Linked DNA regions of Homo sapiens: region 1 is linked to region 2. The links are contacts of gene promoters, found by promoter capture Hi-C in human tissues and cell types (Jung and others, 2019). All regions are on one chromosome and are shown on one strand. The core of a region is centred on a gene start or on the middle of the fragment in contact, and the rest is flanking DNA. Distances in the headings are between cores, read along the strand shown. Region 1 holds the start of RPS6KA1 (ribosomal protein S6 kinase A1). Region 2 has its middle 52 kb from the start of MIR1976.

Evidence for each region. The method cuts DNA at HindIII sites, captures the fragments that hold promoters and counts their contacts. A contact is called where the count stands out against the background at its distance.
Region 1: a contact is called between the fragment with the promoter of RPS6KA1 here and a fragment that was not itself captured in region 2, in 2 of the 25 tissues and cell types used here (hippocampus and thymus).

What each region holds. Positions count from the first base shown.
Region 1 is chr1:26,528,469-26,533,958 of GRCh38, reverse strand. RPS6KA1 (ribosomal protein S6 kinase A1) reads right to left here and starts at 4,198. Exons shown (of 22, transcript NM_002953.4): 1 at 3,976-4,198. The coding sequence starts at 4,038. LOC124903884 (a long non-coding RNA gene) reads left to right here and starts at 2,561. Exons shown (of 2, transcript XR_007065558.1): 1 at 2,561-2,761; 2 at 3,398-4,839. RefSeq lists enhancers at 1,770-2,681, 2,682-3,592 and a silencer at 3,834-4,313. The HindIII fragment of the contact is 11,905 bases long and covers 1-5,490 here.
Region 2 is chr1:26,603,714-26,609,757 of GRCh38, reverse strand. No RefSeq gene overlaps it. Among named protein-coding and RNA genes, the nearest start is that of MIR1976, 52 kb to the right of the region's middle. The HindIII fragment of the contact is 7,565 bases long and covers 1-6,044 here.

The DNA of each region.
Region 1 (5,490 bases), core at 2,949-5,448, 77 kb after region 2:
TAAGGGAACAGGCAGCCCTGGAGAACAGACTGGTAGGGGGGTCAGGGGGGTTGTGGGGTGCTGGCTTCCCACTCAGAGCCTGGGTCCTGGGTCCGGGGTCATCTGCCCCTCTGGCCTGACTGCTGCATAGCAATCCTTGAAAGAACACAGCTGTGCAGCCACAAAGATACAGCCACTAATCCTAGCTCTGCCAGCCACTTATTCTGCCCTTGGGTCTGTCATATCACTTTTTATTTTTATTTTTATTTATTTTTTGAGACAGTTTCACTCTTTTGCCCAGGCTGGAGTGCAGCGGCGCAATCTCAGCTCACTGCAACCTCTGCCCCGCTGGGTTCAAGCAATTCTTCTGCCTCAGCCTCCCAAGTAGCTGGGAATATAGGCCGCACCACCACACCTGGCTAATTTTTGTATTTTTAGTAGAGGCGGGGTTTCGCCATGTTGGCCCAGCTGGTCTCAAACTCCTGACCTCAGGTGATCCACCCGCCTCAGGCTCCCAAAGTGCTAGGATTACAGTCATGAGCCACCACGCGTGGCCTCATATCACTTTTTGAAGTCTCAGTTTCGGCCAGGCGCAGTGGCTCATGTCTGTAATCCCAGCACTTTGGGAGGCTGAGGCCAAGAGGCCTCACAGATCACGAGGATCACGAGGTCAAGAGATCGAGACCATCCTGGTCAACATGGTGAAAACCTGACTCTACTAAAAATACAAAAATTAGCTGGGCATGGTGACACGGGCCTGTAGTCCCAGCTACTCAGGAGGCTGAAGCAGGAGAATCACTTGAACCCGGGAGGTGGAGGTTGCAGTGAGCCGAGATCACGCCACTGCACTCCAGCCTGGTGACAGAGCAAGACTATGTCTCAAAAAATAATAATAGTAATAAAGTCTCAGTTTCCTCATCTGTATCACGAGGGCAGGTGTGTCTTGCTGACATCTGCACTTTGTTGTCTGAAATAGTACTTATCACCTAAGTGCTAAATAAATGACTGAATGGGGACAATGGTGCTGACCTTGCAGAGTACTGAATGAAGGACTTTGTCTTAGGAGTCCTTTGGCCTCTTAGAGGTTGAAGACCCACACTCCTCCCTCTTCCTCAGAGAGCACTGCTCATGAGGACAGATGCCCAGGGCCCCAGACCACTGCCCCCAGTTCTGAGATGTCAGAAATGGGTTCCAACTGGCATCATTCCTTCCCACCCAAGCAACTCTGTCTTAGAAAGAGGGGCCCAGGGCAGCGTCTGGAGAAGCTGGGCAGCAGATGGAGAAGGACAGCACGTGCCCCACAGGCAGGAAGCAGCCCCAGGAGCTGGGTTCTGAGCCCAGCATTGGCAGCCCTGCTCACTGCTGGAGGCTGGGGGCCAGGTGCCAGGGCTGGCTGGCACTGCCAGCCCTCGGCAAAGACTGGACGAGGGCCTTGCAGGATAAGGAGAGTCCGCCAACATCCGGAGCCTCTCTTGGAGCACCTTCCACCTGGGCTAGTGTGGCTCCAGCCCTTCCCCATCCCTGAGCCTCTCTCCCACTTGGTGGAAGAGAGAGATCTTGGTTCCAATCCTGGCTCTGATATTAACACATAAGCCTGAGTTTTCAGTTGTCCCATCTGAAAACAGGGGTAATAATCCCTATCTTGAGAAGCTGTTGTGAGAATTAAAGTGGGGTGACATTCGTAAGGCAGAGTGGGTGGCACATAGTAAAGCTCTGTACGTGGCAGAACTGGGCCTGGGGACAAGGCTACTGCTTTCAACAGGGCTAAGCGAGGCCCAGGCAGAATCCTCACCCACGCTTCCCATAGATTACTCCACCTGGGCTGCACCCTGGGCCAGGCCCTGCCTCCCAGCGGCCCATTTTCAGCAGCATTAAGGGAGGGCAGGGCAGTCCAGATCCTAGGTCCCTGTGAAAAGTCCCCCACCAGCCCCTCACCTGCCTCCTTCCTGGCTAGGAGCTGCCAGCAGTGGTGGTGCCTGTACGTGCAGGTCAGGCGGCTGTATCGCTTACATGTCACCTGGGCTAAGAACAGCGAGGCCCTGTTCTCCAGTGAGAACAGCCCAACCTGCGCCGTGGCTGCCCTGTGGCTCCTGTTACCCAAACAATAACACCCAGTCGCCTGGCACCTCCAGGAGTGGGGGAGGGGGGACCAGACAACAGTACCCAGCGCTCTGCACCCTCTCAGGCCCAGGAAGTGGAGGCTAGAACCTAGCACTTGCCACTGGAGAAGCAGAGGCCCAGACAGGCTGAGGACTGACTGAGGATCACACATCGTTTCTGGAGCGAAGCTCCTGAGGAAATTGCGTCCCCCTGCCCCACCAATCCCAGGAAGTCCGCTGGTCTTCCCCTCTCACAGACCTGAGATGTTACAGAACTCAAAACTGAGATGAGTTTCCCAGTTAAACCTGGCTCCCTGGTGAAGCTGGCCCCTGCCTCAGGATTCCCTAAAGAGAAGCAGGAAGTGGTGCCCCAGGATCGAGCTCCTGGGTGTCCACCCTCCCTATCAGCATAAAGTCACTCCCCAGCCTCTCCCAGCCCTACCTTCTCCTTTGGAGGCCTGGTCCCAGGGGCGTGCCTGGGCAAAGGAATCCACCTCTGAGCACCACCCCCAGGACCTTGCGCCCCGGTCCTAGTAGCGGGGTGGCAGTACAGGGGCTGCAGAGGGCAGTGTTCCTCACCTCAGAGGGTGAGTCAGCGAGAGAACCTCTGAGCAGCCTAGCAGTGCCTGTAAAATCCCCATGGCAGGAATCCCAGAGCAATTTACTCCAAATTGCTCCTTCAGGTTGGTTACCTAATCCTGCCGCGCCCACCCTCCAATAGCCAGTGTCGGCCATCCCTTTAAAGGGGCAGCACACCCTGGGGGCTGGGGACCCTGGGTGCTCACCCTGATCTAAGCCTGTGGTCCTGAGAGGCAGGACACTTGGTGGCTGCCCTAGGTAAGAGAGGGCAGAGGAGGGGACTGAGACAGGGGCTCCAGGCCCAAGCTGGGAGAAAGTCATCTCAGCTCCTGGGCTCAAATGAGGTCTCCATTCCCTCCCTGCATACCCCCAACAACCACCTGGGAAGGAGAATATCACCTGCTTCCTTCCCAGCAAGAGGTTAAGGAGGAAGTTTTCCACCAGCTCATTCAGGGGCTTGACCTTGACCCTGGGGTCAAAAGGCACAGGAAGAGGTGGCCTTCTGCACGCTTAGGGACTGGAGCCACAGAGCCCTCAAGGGAGGTCAGGAGCTGCTTCTGAGAGAGAAGGAGCTGGGTTGTCTGGGGAGTCTGGGCTGGCAGAAGCCAAACTCCCCAAGGGCCCAGCCCTTCCTACCGGAAGGGGCATAAGAAGGGAGGCAGGCACCAAGGTCCCCCCACGCCCTGCCAGGAATCATCTTCACAAGGTCTAAGGGCTCTTCCCCACTCTCGTCTCCACAGCCTGGGGTAGGGCACACAGGTGTCCTCTGGCCCTAGCCTCAGGGCAAAGAAAACCAGGAGTTCCAGCCCCAGACGGGTGGTGCCATCCCACACTCCGCATCCGCCAGGGGTCAAGAGGAGCAATCCTTCTAGGCTCAGCAGCGGTGAAGCCAGAAGCAGGGAGCTCTTGGCGGAGGGCCCTGGGAGAAGTGGGGGTCCCATAACCCCTGTCTCTGGTAGAATCCCAGACATCTGGCACTGAAGATCTCCCCGTCTGCATTAATGGAGGAAGCTCCGACAGCTCTGGACAGATGCCGGGACGGGTCCTAGGTGTGGGGTGAAGGCGACCAGATCTCAGCGCCCCATAGGATCCCCTCTCCTGGCTATGGCGGGGAGGTAGTCGGCGCTTGGCGGAACTGTCCCTCGCACACGCACACCCGGGCATAGGGGGGTGGAGCCGGACAGTGGGCAAGAGATCGGAGGGCACTCGCGCCCTCGCGGGCGCCCGCCGGACTGCAGCGGCGCTTCGGGCCGCCCCGCCCCTGTGAGGATCCGGGCTCGCCGGCCGCGGGCGCCCGTCCCCCGCCCCGCTCACTCACCTCCGGGTCCAGAGGCACTAGCTCCATGAGCGGCCAGGGCTCCTTGAGCTGGGCGAGCGGCATCTCGCCGCCGCCAGGTCACCCGCGCTCCTCCGGCGGCCCCGGCTGCGCCGCCTCCCGGGTCCTGGGGTCCCTGGCTCTGCGACCCGAACCGCCGCGCCCCCCCGAGCCCCTCGCGCTCCGGCTGGGCCGTCCGCCGCCGCCGCCGCGGCACTAGCACTTCGGCTCCCTCCGTCACCCGGCGCCGCCGCGCCCATTGGCTACCTGCGCGGGGGCGGAGCCGGAGAAGCCCCGCCCCAGCCCCCGCGGCGCGGCATTCCCAGCGCGGACCCCCGCCCCCGCCGCGCCCCGAGGGCCGGCCCCGCCCCTGCCGCGAGCCCCCGGCCCGCGCTCGGCTCCGCCGGAGAGGCCCTGCTGGCTCCTTCCCTTCCAGTGGTGTACCCCTGGACACACCACACCAGGGCCACCGTTCTCCCCCGCTCAGCTCTTTTGGAATCCCAGCCCAGATGTTCCTTCTCCTTCCAACGGGAGAGAAGCACCTTATCCCCGACCCCAGCACACACATTCACACTGGGTTCCTGGGCCTGATCTAGGCTGAGGCTTGGAAGGAGCCTGAGACCCACTCCCCTTAGGCCCTCAACTCACCAGGCCCTAGAGATCCCCTATCCTCTAATTTCTACCCCGCCCTGAAGCTAACACTGTGATCTCCGGGCGATCTCAGTGCCCCAGGCCAAGATGGGCATCAGCAGTTGTTACCACCATCAGGACCCATAGTGCCACCACAGAGTGATTGATTGATCGATTGATTTTACATAATGTATATAAATATTACATATATAAATAAATATGTATAAATAAATATTATATATATGCACATATATGTATGTATGTGTGTATATAGTGAGAGAGAGAGAGACACGAAGTTTCGCTTTGTTACCTAGGCTGGTCTCTGACTCCCCGGCTCAAGTGATCCTCCTGCCTCGGCCTCCCAAAGTGCTGGGATTACAGGCATGAGCCACCGCGCCCGGCCAAGAGTGATTTCTTAATATGCGTTTTTGCAATCTGTGCTCTGCCCTATCACTTGAAGGGGGTCCTTTCAGGTCAGGTCTCCCTGGAGTCACCTGCAGCCCCAGCTCTGGACTAGTTTGGGTTTGCGACTCTCTGAGGAGGGACCAGGCTCCCAGGATGAACCGAGGCTTGGTGGGACTTGGAGTGAAAGGCCAGGGAGACTGGTTGCCCCAGAGAGATTCAGCCTCCACCTAAAGAGCCTTAGGGGTCCGGGTGTGCTGAGATGTATTCACATGTGAGGAGTGAGCTTGCTGGAGGGACAAGCTTGCTGGTTTCGCAGGAAGACTGGTCAGTTATTTGCAAAGCTGTTCTAAGGCAGGGGAATGGGAAGGAATGTTTATCAAAAGCTTCCTGCGAGCCATGTGATTTCCTTGAATGATTACCACCACCTAGTTTACAAATCCTGAAACAAGCTCGGAAAGATGAAGTGACTTACCCAAGGTCACA
Region 2 (6,044 bases), core at 1,548-4,047:
AGGCGATCCACCTGCTTTGGCCTCCCAAAGTGCTGGGATTACAGGCGTGAGCCACCATGCCCGGCCAGTTTTGTGGGTATTTTTTAAGTAAAAAAAAAAAAAAAAAAAAAAAATACCAGGCCAGGCACTTGTGGCTCACACCTCTAATTCCAGCACTTTGGGAGGCTGAGGCAGGACAATCACTTGAGCCCAGGAGTTCAAGACCAGCTTGGAAAACATAGTTAAACCCTGTCTCTACAAAAAAATAAAAATAAAAATTAGCCAGGTGTGGTGGCATGTGCCTGTAATCCCAGCTACTCAGGAGGCTGAGGTGGGAGGATCCCTTGAGCCTAGGAAGTTGAGGCTGCAGTGAGCTGTGATCACAACACTGTACTCCAGCCTGGGAATGAAAAAAATAAACAAACCAACAAAAGAATACCAATAAGAGCCTTATATGTCGCTCAGCATTTCAGCAAATATTTATTGATAATCTACTATGAGCCAAGTATTGTATTAGGCATTGGATATACACATGGTGGTCCCTGCCTTCATAGAATTTACAGTCTAGAGGAAGAGACAGACAGTAAACAGGTAAACAGAATTATAAATTGTGATGAACTTTTCTGAATGAAAAGAACAAAGCCTGAAAGAGAGAATAATGGTATGAACCTCCTTCAAGATTGATGGTCAGGAAACGCCACTCTGAGGAAGTAAAATTTCTGGCAGGATGAGAAGGCACCAGGGTGAGGGTCATTCCAGGCAGAGAGAAGAGAGTATGTGTAATTTTCTGTTTGTTTGTTTGTTTTTGAGACGCAGTCTCACTCGGTCGCCCAGGCTGGAGTGCAGTGGTGTGATCTCAGCTCACTACAACCTCCACCTCCTGGGTTCAAGCAATTCTCCTGCCTCAGCCTCCCGAGTAGCTGGGATTACAGGCGCATCCACCCGGCTAATTTTTGTATTTTTAGTAGAAACGGAGTTTCACCATGTTGGCCACGCTGGTCTCGAACTCTTGACCTCTGGTGATCCACCCGCCTTGGCCTCCCAAGTGCTGGGATTACAGGTGTGAGCCACAGTGCCTAGCCAGTGATAGTTCTTAAGATGGAAAGTTACGGCTAGGCATGGTGCCTCACGCCTGTAATGCCAGCACTTTGGGAGGCTGAGGAGGGTAGATCACCTGAGGTTAGGAGTTCGAGACCAGGCTGACCAACATGGTGAAACCCTGTCTCTATTAAAAATGCAAAAATTAGCCGGGCATGGTGGCACACACCTGTAATCCCAGCTACTCGGGAGGCTGAGGCAGGAAAATCCCCTGGACCTGGGAGGCAGAGGTTGCAGTGAGCCGAGATCGCACCATTATACTCCAGCCTGGACAACAAGAGCGAAACTCCCTCTTGAAAATAAAAAAAAAAAAAGATGGAAAGTTATCAAATTCTGGCCGGGTGCAGTGGCTCATGCCTGTAATCCCAGCACTTTGTGGGGCCAAGGTGGGAGGATTACTTGAGCCCAGGAATTCAAATGGGCAACATAAGGAGACCCCCCAGTGTCTACAAATATATATATATATATATATATATTTTTTTTTTTTTTTTTTTTTTTTTTTGAGAGGGGTCTTGCTCTGTCTCTCAGACTGGACTTCTGTGGCATGATCTCGGCTCACTGCAGCCTCTGCCTCTTGGGTTCAAGCGATTCTCCCGCCTTAGCCCCAGAGTAGCTGGAACTATTGGCGCGAGCTGCCACACCTGGCTAATTTTTTGTATTTTAAGTAGAGACGGGGTTTCACTATGTTGGCCAGGCTGGTCTCAAACTCCTGGCCTCAAGTGATCTGCTTTCCTCGTCCTCCCGAAGTGCTGGGATTACAGGCATGAACCACTGTGCCCAGCCTACAATTTTTTTTTTTTAATTAGTTGAGTGTGGTGGCATGTGCCTATAGTCCCGGCAATTCAGGAGGCTGAAGTGGGAGGATCACTTGAACCTGGGAGGTCAAGGCTGCAGTGAGCTGTGACATGATCTCTGATCTCACTTCTGCACTTCAGCCTCGGTGATGGAGCAAGACCCTGTCAAAAAAAAAAAAAAAAAAAAAGAAAGAAAGAAAGAAAGAAAGAGAGGAGAGGGGAGGGGAGGGCAGGGGTTGGGTTACCAGGTTCTATTTGTTACCAGACGAACACAAAAAGAAGCTCAATGTAGCTGACAGGTTGGAGAGGTAGGTGAGGCCAGTCCATACAGGGCTTTCTTGGACCTCAAAGGAGTTTGTATTTTATTCTAAATACAGTGAGAAGCCATTAGAGAATGGTAAGTTAACAAAGAGAGAATTGAGAAGATCCTAGAGCCACAATATTTCAAAAGGTTTCTTACTGATGAAGAAACTGATGCTCAGAGAGGTTCGGTGACTTGCCCAAGATTACACAATCCATAAACCGTGGAATTGAGATTTAGTCTCTCACAGCCTCTGATTCAAGGACTCTGTTCTTTCCACTATTATCTAATACTTGCTTGGGCCAAAAGCTTCACAATATTCTTGACTCCTCTCTATTTCTCTTATATTCCTCATCATATCCATCAGCAAATCCTGGCACCTCTACGTCCAAAATATGACCACTTGTCACCACCTGCACTGCTATCACCCTGACCCAAGCCACCATTATTTCTTGCTTTGATTCCTGCAATTGCCTCCTAACTGGTCTCCCTGCTTCAGCTCTTCCACTCCTACCTTCTATTTTCTACACAGCAGCCATAATAATCCTTTAAAAACATAAATCATATTTACAACTATTATGTACCCATAAATTTTTTTAGAGGCTGAGTGTGGTGGCCTGTGCCTGTAACCCCAGTGTTTTGGGAGGCCAAGACAGGAGGATCACCTGAGGCCAGGAGTTTGAGACCAGCCTGGGCAACATAGTGAAACCCGATCTCTTCAAAAAAATTTTAAAATTAGCTGGCATAGTGGTTCACACCTGTAGTCCTAACTACTTAGGAGACTGAGGCAGGAGGATCACTTGAGCCCAGGAGTTCAAGGCTGCAGTGAGCTATGACTGCGCCACTACACTCCAGCCTGGGTGACCCCGTTGTAAAAAAATTAAATAATTTTATGTCATATCATAAAACATAAGTCTTTCCCCTACTAAAAACCCTCCAGTGGCTTCTCATCTCACTCAGAATAAAAAACAGAGAGGTCGAGCACAGTGGCTCACACCTGTAATCCCAGCACTTTGGGAGGCAAAGGCGGGCAGATCACTTGAGCCCAGGAGTTCAAGACCAGCCTGGCCAACATGGTGAAACCCTGTCTCTACTAAAAATATAAAAGTTAGCTGAGTGTGGTGGTGCACACCTGTAATCCCAGCTACTTGGGAGGCTGAGGCAGGAGAATCGCTTGAACCTGGGAGGCGGAGGTTGCAATGAGCCAAGACTGTGCCACTGCACTTCAGCCAGCCTGGGCAAAAGAGCGAGAGTCTGTCTAAAACAAAACAAAACAAAATAAACAAAGACCCCACAATGATTTACAAGGCCTTACAAGTCTGTCCCCTCCACTCCCACTTTCCTGACCTCTCTTACATCTTTCCCTTGGCTTATTCTATTTAGCTACAATTGGTCTCCTTCAACAAGGAAACTCCTGTGTCAGGACCTGTGCATTTGCTGTGCCCTCTGCCTGGCAAGCTCCTCCCCCTCATATTTATATGGCTTGTTCTCCCTCTTCTTTTATGTCTCAGCTCAAATCACCTCATCAGTGAGTTCTTTCTGTCTACCCTTTGTAAACTAAAAAAACTCTGTCCAGCCGGGCGCGGTGGCTCACACCTGTAATCCCAACACTTTGGGAGGCCGAGGCGGGCAGATCACAAGGTCAGGAGATCGAGACCATCCTGGACAACATGGTGAAACCCCATCTGTACTAAAAATACAAAAAATTAGCTGGGCATGGTGGCGCGTGCCTGTAATCCCAGCTACTCAGGAGGCTGAGGCAGGAGAATTGCTTGAACCAGGGAGTCGGAGGTTGCATTGAGCTGAGATCACACCATTGCCCTCCAGCCTGGCAAGAGAGTGAGACTCCATCTCAAAAAAAAAAAAAAAAAAAAGACTCTGCTCAAACCATAATTTCTATCTCCCTTAACACTGCTTTATGATTCTCAATACCCTCATTATCATTTAATACACTATAGGTCTACTTACTTATTATTTTGATCCTTCCCATTAGAATGTAAGTTGCATGAGAATAAGAACTTTATTTTATTTTCTGTTCTTAGAACACTGTTTTCAGCTCTGATAACACTGCCTGGCACATAGTAGGTGAATAGAGGCAGTTGACTAAAGAATAGGACCGATGTTTTCAATGACTGAATTAACAGAAAGACAAAGTCATTCTTCTGAGGATGGGAAAGCATGTTGTAAACTAGGAAATGATATAAAAAGTTTATTTCTTCCAGTTGGTTCTTGATTTCTAAGTCTTATGATCCTCTTTGAAAACCTTTACTAAATAGAGTAGACTCAAATGATCTTGGATGCAATGCTGACTCTTGGTAGGCCACCAAATACATAACTGGGTGTCAGGAAATGCGGTCTTGCCATCTTTCTCAGGCTCACTGCCATAGCTAGCAAGGACCTCTTGCTCCTTTCTTAGGTATCCTTGCATGCCTTTGGCTTTTCAGAATTTTTTATTCTGGGGAATGGGAGTGATGGTTGATGCCCTGTCTGTAGTTGAGATTCTGTACAGGGAAAGTCATTCAGTTAAATCAAGCAGTATTGAATTCCTAATTGACACAAATGAGACAGACAGACAGCTGGAGGAGTGGGGGAGGGACAGAGAGCAGGTGCCCTGAATAATGGACAAAGAAGAGAGGCAGAATATAAATTGAAGCTAATGGTGAAGAAGCTCACTGTGAGTCTAGATTTTGTGCCACAAGAAAAGTAAACTTTGCCACAGCTTACTTTACGTAGAGCGGAAAGGATCCAGTGGTGTTTTTGCCAAGGATAAGGCAACAAGTTCCAAATGCTTGTGCCATTTTGGCTGCCCTGATGGCCAAGTTTGCCTCTTTTCAGGTACCATCATTTGTGAGAATCACTCTTAGTAAAGTCCTCATTCTGTGTTTTTTTCCAAAACAAACTTAATCACGTAGTGTTTGAACGAAAGAAACTGCTTTGAAAATTCTATTTGTCAAACAAAGGGATTCTTAACACGTAAGTTAGGAAGGTGAAGGGAAGGATGTTTCTAGATCTTCAAATGCCAGACATAGGGGGCATTCCTGCAGAGAAGGCATGTATCTTGTCAACTCCAGAATTTCCTCTGAGAATGCTGGGGGCTTTTTTCCTCTCAGTCCCCTCTTGATCAGAGCTTTGACTCCCCAGCTCAGACAGTTCTTTTCTGTAGCCATGGGAATTGCTCCCATAATTAGCAGTGTCTCCTGCCTGGAACTCAGACAAGTAAATGTTCAAACCTGGCAGCCGATCCTGGGAAGGAGAGCTGATTAAATCTTTCCTGTCGAGAGGCACCTTTTTGATTTGAATGTGACACCTACATCCCCCACCTCAGGTTTGTCTGGGGGAAGCAGTTTTGCCCATATCTTCATAACTGAAGATCCTGGTATTTTAAAGACACATTTAATCTTAAAAGGAGCCCATTGGTTTCCCAAGTTAAGTAACTTAGGAAAAAGCCTAGGCTTTTTTCCTCTCCTGGCCCCTTCTCCACTAAACACCACCCTGTGTTTGGTATGATGAAAGCTCCTGCTACACAGGTATCATCAAATGCCAGAGGCCTTGAGAAATAAAACGAGTTCAGAACACCACTAAGTACACATAAGTATTAACTACAAATGGAGGAGTGAAAGAGCAGGCAAACTATTTCTTTAGAAGTTTTAGTAAGACGGGCTGGAACCATCAAGCCCCAAAGTGAATACTCTTGGTGATATTCCGTTCCAGGAAAGCTTTCTACAGGCGGAGGTGTATTCTTATCTGGATGTAGCTGGATTATGTACTACCATTCAAACACTTTTGGGAGAGACAATATCCATTTTCCTACTGACATCAAGGCAGCCTTTTAAGTTTATCCAGATTTATTTTGGTTAGTGCAATAAAAAAGC